Linked DNA regions of Homo sapiens: all the other regions are linked to region 1. The links are contacts of gene promoters, found by promoter capture Hi-C in human tissues and cell types (Jung and others, 2019). All regions are on one chromosome and are shown on one strand. Each heading gives the region's core, a stretch centred on a gene start or on the middle of the fragment in contact. The rest is flanking DNA. Distances are from core to core; before and after follow the strand shown. Region 1 holds the start of SLC6A13 (solute carrier family 6 member 13). Region 2 overlaps IQSEC3 (IQ motif and Sec7 domain ArfGEF 3). Region 3 overlaps KDM5A (lysine demethylase 5A).

The links. The method cuts DNA at HindIII sites, captures the fragments that hold promoters and counts their contacts. A contact is called where the count stands out against the background at its distance.
Region 2: a fragment that was not itself captured here is called in contact with the fragment with the promoter of SLC6A13 in region 1 in 3 of the 25 tissues and cell types used here (IMR-90 fibroblasts, liver and mesendoderm cells).
Region 3: a contact is called between a fragment that was not itself captured here and the fragment with the promoter of SLC6A13 in region 1, in 4 of the 25 tissues and cell types used here (IMR-90 fibroblasts, hippocampus, lymphoblastoid cells and 1 more).

What each region holds. Positions count from the first base shown.
Region 1 is chr12:260,968-264,744 of GRCh38, reverse strand. SLC6A13 (solute carrier family 6 member 13) reads left to right here and starts at 1,909. Exons shown (of 15, transcript NM_016615.5): 1 at 1,909-1,956. The HindIII fragment of the contact is 8,106 bases long and covers 254-3,777 here.
Region 2 is chr12:150,490-154,266 of GRCh38, reverse strand. All of the region lies in intron 5 of IQSEC3 (IQ motif and Sec7 domain ArfGEF 3), which reads right to left. Among named protein-coding and RNA genes, the nearest start is that of IQSEC3-AS3, 3.2 kb to the right of the region's middle. RefSeq lists an enhancer at 317-1,231. The HindIII fragment of the contact is 4,498 bases long and covers 1-3,777 here.
Region 3 is chr12:363,934-367,710 of GRCh38, reverse strand. KDM5A (lysine demethylase 5A) reads left to right here. Exons shown (of 28, transcript NM_001042603.3): 4 at 1,607-1,777. Among named protein-coding and RNA genes, the nearest start is that of KDM5A, 23 kb to the left of the region's middle. The HindIII fragment of the contact is 3,397 bases long and covers 372-3,768 here.

The sequences.
Region 1 (3,777 bases), core at 660-3,159:
GTCAACCTAAGCAGGACAAAAAACCTACCATAGCCATTCCCACTTTATAGAGGAAAAAGAAATTGGGGATAACAAAGATTTGGAGAGGAATAAAATAGGAGTCAACATGGTAACATGGCAGCAGTTATGTAAAAACAAAAGAGTTGGTAAGTAAAGCCAACATTCCTTCATACAACAGCAGCAGCTCACAACCAACTCAGGATAAGCCTGATGATGTCCTTATCACTGACAGTCTTTCCTGGAAGCTGGAAATTGCAACCGTTTGCATATGTGAGGACACAGAAGGGGCTGTGCAACATTGCCAAAGGCTGAATGGTATCTGAGAAAACACCCGTTATCTGGTAATTTTAGATTACAAATGCCAAAGTTTATAATGCATAGTAGGCCATTAGTAAGTACCACTCAGTGATACGTAAAAATGGAAGTCAATAGCACTGCTTTGAAGATGGTCTTTTTTTTACATGAGTTTGTAGGCTGTCTCAGGACGCTTTTGGTTTATTGCTTTACAGAGCTCAGTCTAACAGATGAAAGCTTGAAAGGGGAGAGGAACAGGGGCCGCTGAAACATAAGAATAATAATTTCCAAGAAGCTTCTGGGAAGCTCTCCAGGTATTACCATGCAGTGTTTCCATGCCCCTACCCCATGCCCTTGAGTTAGATGAGGGATCAAGGAAACGGAAACTACCTTAGACTCTTCGATCCGTCTTTCTTTCCACACTTCTCCGTCATCTCAAGATGTCTCTATCACCTCACTCACTCATTGCCGCATCCCCTACCTAACTCATTCTCACAGTCTGGCCAGAGCCCAGCTTAGCTCAGGGGTCTCTCAGTCCCGTCTCCTTCAAGAAGACTTCCGGGCTCACTGCTCACTGTGAATAATCCCTTAAGGATGAATAACAGCTGCCATTTACAGTTAGTCATCATCTCCTGAAATCTCAAGCTAGACAGTGGCATACGTAGGACTCAGACCCCACACTCTCTGGTGTCAAAGTCTGAGCAGGTTTCCACTACATGTACTGTGCTTCAGCACATGGCTGAGGTGGGACTCTGCCCTGTCCTAGACTCCAGGCTGAATGAACTACTCTCACAGCCGCCTCTGTGGGCTGTTCCTGCAGAGAAACGAAGCTCCCTGGATGACCTCGGCCTCGCGCTCACCGCCTGCTCCTTCCCTTATAACAGCTTTAGGGCTTTGCTTTATTTTAAACGTTGGCACTTCCTTTTCTCTATTGATTTAAAAAATATTTTAAAATTCTAGCATATTAAAAAATCTAAACAATATTGAAAAAGTGGGGAAAAAATCTCCCTTACTGCCATCTCCTGATCTCAGTTCCACTCTACAAATGTAACTACTATTAATCATTTAGCGAAGATTTTTTCAGACTTTTTCTATATGTGTATAAATGTCTGTGTATGTTTGGGAAGTTTTTCTGACATCTCAGAGTTCTGTATCTATGTATCTTTGTTCTAAATCATCGTCCATTCCACATTGCAAGCTGCGAAACGGTAAGATAAATGTATTTTTAAATTAATCTACACAGCACCTGACCAAAGGAATACCTATTCTTGATGGATTTATAGGAGCACTTGTGTTGGAGACAGGGGTGGGAGGCAGGATCCCTCCAGAGAGACCCTGAGCTCACCAGGTGGGAAGCGCACATGAGCTCCGGGGAGGAGACCACACTTCATAAGCTCACCAGCAACTGGCCCGACCTGCCAGGGCGTGCACACTCCCCAGACTGCGAAATCACTCATGTGTGGGTTGTCCAGTGGCCGAGGGGAGGGGAGGGGAGAAAAGGGGAGGGGGAGGCACAAGGGTGGAATGTGGGCTGGGCCAAGTTTAGAATTTCAAGTGCCACAGAGGCGTTCTGGAACCACACTTTAAATAGCCAGCACCTTCTCCTTCCCCCTTAGATAATTCTTCTCCCCTGACTGGACCTCTGGCAGCAGCTTCACTAAGGTTCGAAATGTTTTCTTCTCTTTTTTTTCTATTTCTGCGTCTCAGACTGCAGGTTGGTGGGATCCATGGGACTTACAACCAAAGGACTTTTTTCTTACCCTCGCCTAGAAAGTACGCTTCTGACATGTATGTGTGCAAATGCAAAGATTATGTGCTATTTTCTTGACTTTCTGAAACTTGGGTGGCTGTTGACTTAAGTGACACTGTGATTTGGAAAGAGAGAGCCCTAGATTGAGAGGAAAGACAACTGGATTTAACTCCAAGAAAACAAAGTCTTTCTTCTCTGAGAAAAGAGAACAATGATCAACTCTGACAGGACTGAAAGAAAACAAAAATTTGAGTACCTGTTATTCTATTAAGTGTGTATACATATGTATATTTCCTCATTTAATTCTTATAGCTAAGTATATCCTATCTATCATCCCCACTTTTACAGATGAACAAACTAAGGCTCAGAGTCATTCATTAACTTCTCTGAAGTCAGACATTGGTATGAGAAAAAACTAATGTTTGAACCTGGCCTCATCTGACTCTACAGCTCATGACCTTTCAGACACAACATGCTACCTCTGAGAAGCAGCTCTAATGAGGCTAAGGGAGCCAGGAGAAGGCTACTGTTTCTCCTAGGGTCTGGGAGGGTGGAGAAGGGAAGGCTTTCCATCACTGGGAGAGATCCATCAGCTGGTAAAGGGAGGGGAGGCCAGCACAGTCAGTACCTTAGACAACCTTCCCAAAAGGACTGAGGAGCCCTCTTGGGACCAGTTACTTGAGTTTCTCCTTTGTAGAAAGGAGCTCATTCCCTAATTTATCAGATAAACATAGATGCCTGCTGTTCCCTGACTTTTTTTTTTTTTCTTTTTTTTGAGACAGAGTCTCGCTTTGTTGCCCAGACTGGAGTGCAGTGGCGCGATCTCGGCTCACTGCAACCTCTGCCTCCTGGTTTCAAGCGATTCTCCTGCCTCAGCCTCCTGAGTAGCTGGGATTACAGGTGCCTGCCACCATGCCCAGCTAATTTTTGTACTTTTCGTAGAGACGGGGTGTCACCATGTTGGCCAGGCTGGTCTCAAACTCCTGACCTCAGGAGATCCACCCGCCTCGGCCTCCCAAGTGCTGGGATTACAGGCGTGAGCCATTGCACCCGGCCTGTTCACTGACTTTCTAATTTTCTGGGTCAGAGCCAAAGTAGAGTCTGTGGCCAGAAGAGGTTACTGCTGAGAAAGTTCTGTTAACATGAACTTTGCTTGAGGCTTAGAAAAAAGTCCATCTGCCTCCTTCTCCAGAAAAGAGGCCACTCTGCAAAATCAAGGCAGAGTCATTAGAAGATGCTTTTAGTAGACACACCAGTGAACCTAGGCAGCCAATGTAATCAAAGGGATGGAACTGAAAGAGCAGGGGCAGAGTGGGTTTAAGTCCTGGCTGTGCAAGTTAGTAGCTATATGGCAGCAGCAGTCACATTATTTAACCTCTCTGAGCTGCAACTTCCTTATTTATAAAGTGGAGGTAATAATGCTTACATCTCAGGGTTGTTGTGAGAATTAAATGAAAAGAATGTATGTGAAGTGCCTAGTCTATAGTAGTTGCTAACTAAATGTGGGCCACGTCCAGTCATCCTCAATCCCAACAGTGGTCTGGAATGGGCCATTTCTGACAGTGAATGGTTAAAACTGTGGCTTTTTATTTATATCATCTTCTCTACTGTCACAGACTCCTAATTTGTCATCACCAAAAAAGAAAAAGAGCGCATAGTAAATCTCTGCCTTACGCTGATTTCAGAGAGACATAGAAGGAGTACTTAGACCACCTCATCTTACTCACAATTCC
Region 2 (3,777 bases), core at 349-2,848, 110 kb after region 1:
AGTTTCCAGCCCTTCACTCAGGTGACAAGCAGCCGTTCACTCACTCAAGTCTGCTGCTAAAAGCCCCGGTAGTGAGCTGAGAGCCTGAGAGCCAAGGACCGGGATGGGGGAAGCAGCCAGGTTGAAAAGTCGGCCCACAGAATGGGAGTTGAATACACCCCTCGTGGGCCTCGAAGCGGGGAGGGCTGCAGGGGTGGACACTTGGGCTGTGGAGCTGGAAGGGCCTCTCATCCAACATCTTCCAGTGTGTGCTCTCAGGACCCCACAGCGGAGTCATAAGGTGGTTTGTTAAAATGCAGCTCGCTGGACCCCACCCCAGACCCAGCAAATTAGAATATTTGGGGGCAAGTCCTGGGAATCAGCATTCTCTGCAAGATCTCCCGGTTGTTCCTAAATTGTGAAACCAAAGACTGAGCTGAGTGCAAGGGTAGGCCTCACTGCGGCTTTTAAAGTGAGTCCAGCAACTCACAGGCCACCAGGCAGCCGTCCTTAGGGGCATGTGTCCCCACCTGGCTATCGGGGCTGCTTTTGCATGGGGGTGGTGAGGGAGGGGTGGATGGAGGCATAAACAGATGTAGTTCTTCCCCTGGCTATGCACCTGCCGTCCTGCCTTCCTCCCCTCACTGCATTTGCCACCACAGGGTATCTGTGTTTCATGAACAGGTGCTATTCTGGGTTTCTCAGACCCTGGGGGAAAAAATGACATTTTCTGGCTGTGAAATCCCTAGCTGGAAGGGAGGAAGCTGTGCTGAGTGGTGGGACACTCTACCCTCCTGCCTGAGGAAGGCACTTCCTCACTGGAGAGCTGGGGGTTGGACCAGGTGACCTCTCAGGACTGGCACCCGGAGGCACGGGCCATCTCTGAAGCACTGCAGACGCTCCCAACGGCAGGGGGCAGACGACCCGCAGCAGCACTCCTGGCTGGCTGGTGGCTTCATCCCCACCCTCCTCTAGGGGGAATCACTGATCACTGTTTGCGTTCCTGATGGGGCCTGTGTCATCCTGGGGAAGGTGGCTGGGGGTGGGACTGTGCTGTCTACCATAAGCCCTGCTCATTCCAGGGTCCGTGTCCCCCTGGAAGCACCTATAAGCCTCGGCCCTCTACAGCATGAGCCTCCTCTGTTCACTCCCTGAGCATAAGCTTCTGCTTGCACCGTGCCCTCTTTTGCTCCCTCCCCTTCTCTCACTCTCTGTCCTGCTGCTTCTCTTATTTTGCAGTGTCTACCAGCACTCCTAATTCCCACTTTCCAGCCTTCTTTGCTGCCCTGGAATCCTCTTGGGGAGCTGAGTGTGGGCAGTTTACCAAATCCATGCTGCAGCCTCCACCCAGGGTGGCCTGGAGTCATCTCTCCTCATTGGTCATCTTTAAGGTAAAGAGCACCACACATTCCCGGGTGGTCTTTTCTGGTGTATCATCTCCCCATTTTACAGAAGACAAAACTAATGCCACGTAGGGCTGGCCCCATGCTCCCACAGCTAGGGAGAGCAGGCTTTCAGCTTCCTAATCTTGTGAGGCCTCTCCCTGCCCCACTGGGCTCTCTTCTCTTCACTCCTGTGTGTGTGTGGGGTGGCAGGGAGGTCCCTTACTCAAGTCGGGGGAGTTCCCTCTGAGCTCTCTGTACTGAGTATGGCTCTAAGTGCTTCACTATGTGTGCAATGACCTCATCTTCTCAAGCTTGTGCAATATGAACCATTGTACCATTATGTTTTTATTACATATGAGACTGAAGTACACTAGACAGCCAGCCCTACAGGCGTGCTGCACACATCTCATTCCTTGCTGACATCTCCTGGGGCAGGTGGTCCCCTGTGCCCTCCTCTCCCTCACCTCTCCCTGGCTCTCTGCTGCTCAGTGGCTGGCACTAATGCATGTCTTCCTAGGGGCTGTGATCTTACCCAGATGGCTTGGTGGGGACCTGTGAGAGGCCAAGGAGAAGCCCGTGGACACAGTTACACAGGAGAGCCTCTTGGTGCATGCGTGGGCAGTCAGCACGGGGGCTCTGTGGTCACCCTGCAGGTTCAGAGCTGGCCTGGGCACCTGGAGCCCACAGCAGGGTCCATATCGCTGACCTCCTGCCTTCCCCTTTCTGGTGCTTTTTGTGCCCTGTGGCAGTGGCTGGTTGACTCTTTCAGCAACGAGCACTGAGTGGCCCCGTGTGCAAGGCTGTGCTCGGGACCTGGTGTAAGTGGCCAGCAACACAGTCTCTGTCTTGGTGGGAGAGACAGGCATTGAACACAGAGTCAAAAATAATTCTTTACCTATAGTCATGATGAGTTCTATGTAGGGAAACGACGGTTCCAGGAGAGGACAAAGGAGATATATTTTATATTGTATGTCTGGAAAGGACTCTTTGGGGACATGGCATTTGAGCTGAGGCCTGAAAGATGAGTAGGAGGTGGCCAAAGGAAGGAGAGAGGGGAGAGCTGTCAGGTGGGCTAAGGGAGGAAGCATATGCAAAGGCTCACGGCAGGGAGGAGCTTCAAGGACCTAGGCAGGGTCCGCAAGGTTGCAGTGCAGACAGTAACAGGGAGAATGGTGACTGTGGGGCAGCAGCCAGGGCTCAGTCTGTCAGCTTTGTGGGTCATGAGAAGGATTTGGGAGTTTATCCTGAATGCACTGGGACACAATAGAGGGTATGATCAGAGGAGCGACAGGGTCCTGTTTGTTCTAAGAAGATTTCCCTGGCTGTTGGAGAGAAAATGAATGGCAGAGGGGCAGGGAAGAAGACAGAAGCAGGGGCCCAGTTAGGATGCTACTGCAGAGGTCCAAGCTACAGATAATGGGGCTTGGGCTAAGGCAGGAGCAGTGGAAACAAACTGAATGAATGATCCAGCTGCATCTTAGAGGAAGAACAGATGGGACTCGAGGTGCAGGGAATGTGGGAAGTGAGGAAAGGGAGGCATCACTGGTGCATCCTGGAGCTCTGGCTGGAGCACCCAGGGGCCTGGAGGTACCGTTCTCTAGTGTGAGTGTATCATGGTGCAGACACACGCTGGAGGAGAGACGGAGTCTCCATCTTGGGGCACACGAAGTCTGAGGTGTTCTTTCAGATAGCTACCGTGCCTCCCCTCTACTGAATCATCTCAGGAGAACCCAGGGGCCTGGAGGTACCATTCTCTAGTGTGAGTGTATCATGGTGCAGACACACGCTGGAGGAGAGACGGAGTCTCCATCTTGGGGCACACGAAGTTTGAGGTGTTCTTTCAGATAGCTACCGTGCCTCCCCTCTACTGAATCATCTCAGGAGCACCCAGGGGCCTGGAGGTACCGTTCTCTAGTGTGAGTGTATCATGGTGCAGACACATGCTGGAGAGACGGAGTCTCCATCTTGGGGCACACGAAGTTTGAGGTGTTCTTTCAGATAGCTACCACGCCTCCCCTCTACTGAATCATCCTCAGGAGCACCCAAGTGCTTGTCTTTTTCATCTTACAAATCAGAACCCTGCCTTGAGCCCTCGTTGCTCTCTAGACACTGCCTCTCTTCTCTCCTCTTTGCTGCCTCCACTTCCTCTTCTCCATTCACTCTTCAACCTGCTCCACTCAAGCATCCAACCCCAGGCACCATTAACACTTCTCTTGTCACGGCCATTGCTGGTTGCTATGTGGCCAAATCCAACGGCCTATCTCTGTCCTCATCCCAGCCCCTTGGCAGCATCGACATGGTTAATTGCTCCCTTCTGGAAACACCGTCTTCTTGGCTTCCATCACCCTCCCTCCCCAGGTGGACTCTTTCCTCTGGAGGAGCCCCTCATCCATTGCAGCTGCCCCTCCTCACT
Region 3 (3,777 bases), core at 821-3,320, 100 kb before region 1:
TTTTTTTCGGAGATGGAGTCTCACTCTACTGTCCAGGCTGGAGTGCAGTGGCACAATCTCAGCTAACTGCAACCTTTGCCTCCTGGGTTCAAGTGATTCTTGGGCCTCAGCCTCCTGAGTAGCTGGGATTATAGGTGTGCACCACCACGTCTGGCTAATTCTTTGTATATTTTTTTAGAAGAGATGGGGTTTCACTATGTTGCGCAGGCTGCTCTTGAACTCCTGAGCTCAGGCTATTTGCCCAGCTCTGCCTCCCAAAGTCCTGGGATTACAGGCATAAGCCACCCTGCCCAACCTGCCCAGCTAATTTTTAAATTTTTTTGTAGAGATGGGGGCCTCACTATATTGTCCAGCATGGTTTGAAACTCCTGGGCTCAAGTGATCCTCCTGCCTTGGCCTCCCAAAGTGTTAGAATTACAGATGTGAGCCACTATGCCTGGCTTTAACTTTTTTTTTATGTAGTAAGATACAGTAGTATATACTCAATCAAATAGGAGAAACTGAGTTTGAACACTGTGTCACAGTCCCCTTTATTCTCAGTGAAATTGAAAACTGCCTGTACAATCGTGTCACTTAATGACAGGGATATGTTCTGAAAAACATGAGGATTTCATTATTGTGCAAACATAGAATGTACTTATACAAACCCAGATGGTATGGCCTACTGCATACCTAGGCTATGTGGTATAACCTGTTGCTCCTAGACCTAAAGGTGTACAGCCTGTTACTCTACTGAATACTGTAGGCAGTGTAACACAATGGTAAGTATTTGTGTATGTATCTAAACACAAAGGTTCAGTAAGAATATGGTATTATAATCTTATGGGAGCACTGTCATATATGCGGTCTATATTTGACCAAAATGTTATGCAGTGCATGACTGTATTTTAGAGCCTAAGAGATGTATAGTAACAGCTCCTGGACGTTAAGGAGCTTTGAAATATGTATTCTGTAGAGTGCCTGGCTTGATGTGACCATTCAGCCAAGTTAGCCAATTTATCTCATCGTTTTCTACCTTAATATATTCTGTACTCCGTATCGGTAAATCTACTGCAACCTAATCTTTTTCAGTGTTCCTTTATGATCTTCCATATAAAACTCTTGCCCTTTTGAAAAATTATAGCCTGTTTTTCACAACTGTCCTCTGTATTCATGGTTTGATTGACGTTTTTGTTAAGTTCTGTAAGTTACTTGGTTATTTCTAATTTCAGGATTTATGTTTATTTTGTATTATATAACATTTATTTTCATATCTATTTTTTATCTGTTTTTATTCTTATTTCATATTGTGAGTTCCTTAAGTAGGTAGTCTGTCTGTACATGTGTTTAGTTTTCTCACAGTGCGTACTGTACAGAGTATTCATTAAATATTTTTGAATGCTTGGTTTGAAGGTAGGCATAATGTTAATTACATTTTAAACCTCTGAAAAGCATTGTTTCTATTTCTTACTCTAAATGTTGACAAGTGTCAGTTTGGTTAGATACTCATTGAAAGGAAATTTGAAATTTAAGCCCTGAATAATTTTTCTATTTAGTAGACAAGACTTAAGAGTCAAGATGCTTGAATTTGCCTTTTTTCTCTAAGCAACTTTTACTTTCTTTTCAGATTGTTGCCAGCAAAGGAGGTTTTGAAATGGTCACCAAAGAGAAGAAATGGTCTAAAGTGGGTAGTCGCTTGGGATATCTGCCAGGAAAAGGAACTGGGTCTCTTTTGAAGTCACATTATGAAAGAATTCTCTACCCATATGAGCTTTTCCAGTCTGGTGTGAGCCTTATGGTGAGATGCATTATTCTTTTTAGAAAAAGTTGATAAATCCAGTTTGCCCAAGTACAAACTTTAGACTGTGTTTAACCCAAGTTAGCAGGCACCAAAATTTGGGGAAGCAAAGTGTATATCATAGTGTAAAAATCATAGCTGTTTTTGATGGTTTACAAGATAAAGAATAATGGAAATGAAGAATGTTTTCTTATTTATTTAAAATAAACCTTTATGACTGAAACTTTTTGAAAAAGTCCTGTTTGTTTCATGAATTTTTCTAAAACAGCTTTATTAGTTATGATTTATATACCATAGAATTCACCCTTTGTGGGTGCACCGTTGGTAAGCTTTAATACATTTCTACATTTATGCAGCGATCACTGTGATCCAGTTTTAGAGCACTTCCACTAGCCCCCAAAATTCTCTTGTTCATTTGTAGTTGGTTCCTGTACCACCCCCACACACAGGCAATTCCTGACCCGCTTTCTGGCTCTGTAGTTTGTCTTTTCTAGAACTTTCACCTAGATGTAATCATACAATATGATTTTGTGTCTGGCTTTTTTCACTTAGCCTAATGTTTTCAGAGTTCAGCCATGTTGGCTGGATGCGGTGGCTAATGCCTGTAATCTCAGCACTGTGGGAGGCTGAGGTGGGTGGATCGTTTGAGGCCAGAAGTTTGAGACCAGCCTGGGCATCATGGTGAAACCCTGTCTCTACTAAAAATACAAAAAATTAGCCAGGTATGGTGGTGTGCGCCAGTGGTCCCAGCTACTCCAGAGACTGTGGTAGGATGATTGCTTCAGCCTGGGAGATGGAGGTTGCAGTAAGCTGAGATCCTGCCACTGCACTCCAGCCTGGGTGACAGAGTGAGACCCTGTCTCAAAAAAAAAAGTTCAGCCATGCTATAGCATGTGTCAGTACTTTATTTTTATGGCTGAATAATATTCCATTGAATGGATATACCACATTTTGTTTATCCATTTACCAGTTGATGGAGTTTTAGATTGTTTCCAGTTTATGGCTATTATGAATAATGCTATGAATATTCATAGACAAGTCTTTGAGTGGACATATGTTTTCATTTCTCTTGGGTAGGTACTTGGGAGTGGAATTGCTGGGTTATATAGTAAGTTTATGTGTAAATTTGTTTGTTTGTTTTTTTTTTTTTTTTTGAGATGAGACTCCGTCGCCCAGGCTGGAGTGCAGTGGCGCGATCTCGGCTTGCTGCAAGCTCCGCCTCCTGGGCTCACGCCATTCTCCTGCCTCAGCCTCCCGAGTAGCTGGGACTACAGGTGCCCACCACCACGCCCACAGAATTTTTTGTATTTTTAGTAGAGACGGAGTTTCACCGTGTTAGCCAGGATGGTCTCGATCTCCTGACCTCGTGATCCACTCACCTCGGCCTCCCAAAGTGCTGGGATTACAGGTGTGAGCCACTGCGCCCGGCCGTTTATGTGTAAATTTTTTTTTTTTTTGAGGTGGAATCTTGCTGTGTCGCCCAGGCTGGAGTGCAGTGGCGTGAACTCGGCTCACTGCAGCCTCCGCCTCCCGGTTTCAAGTGATTCTCCTACCTCAGCCTCCTGAGTAGAGTAGTTGAGACTACAGGTGCATGCCACCACCCCCAGCTAATTTTTGTATTTTTAGTAGAGACAGGGTTTCATCATGTTGGCCAGGCTGGTCTTGAACTCCTGACTTCAAGTGGTCCACCCACCTTGGCCACCCAAAGTGCTGAGATTATAGGCGTGAGCCACCGCACCCGGCCTGTGTAAATTTTTAAGGACTGCCAAGTTGTTTTCCAAAATGGCTGAATCATTTTACTTTCCCACCAGTAATGTAGAGGCTTCTAGTTTTTCCACATCCTGGTCAACACTTGGTATTGTCAGTTTTTTTAATTATAGCCATTCTAGTTAGTTGTATAGTGATACCTTATTGTGGTTTTAATTTGCATTTCTCTAATGACTAGTGATGTGCCTATTTTCATATTCATATTAAACATTTGTATATCTTGGTGAAGTGTC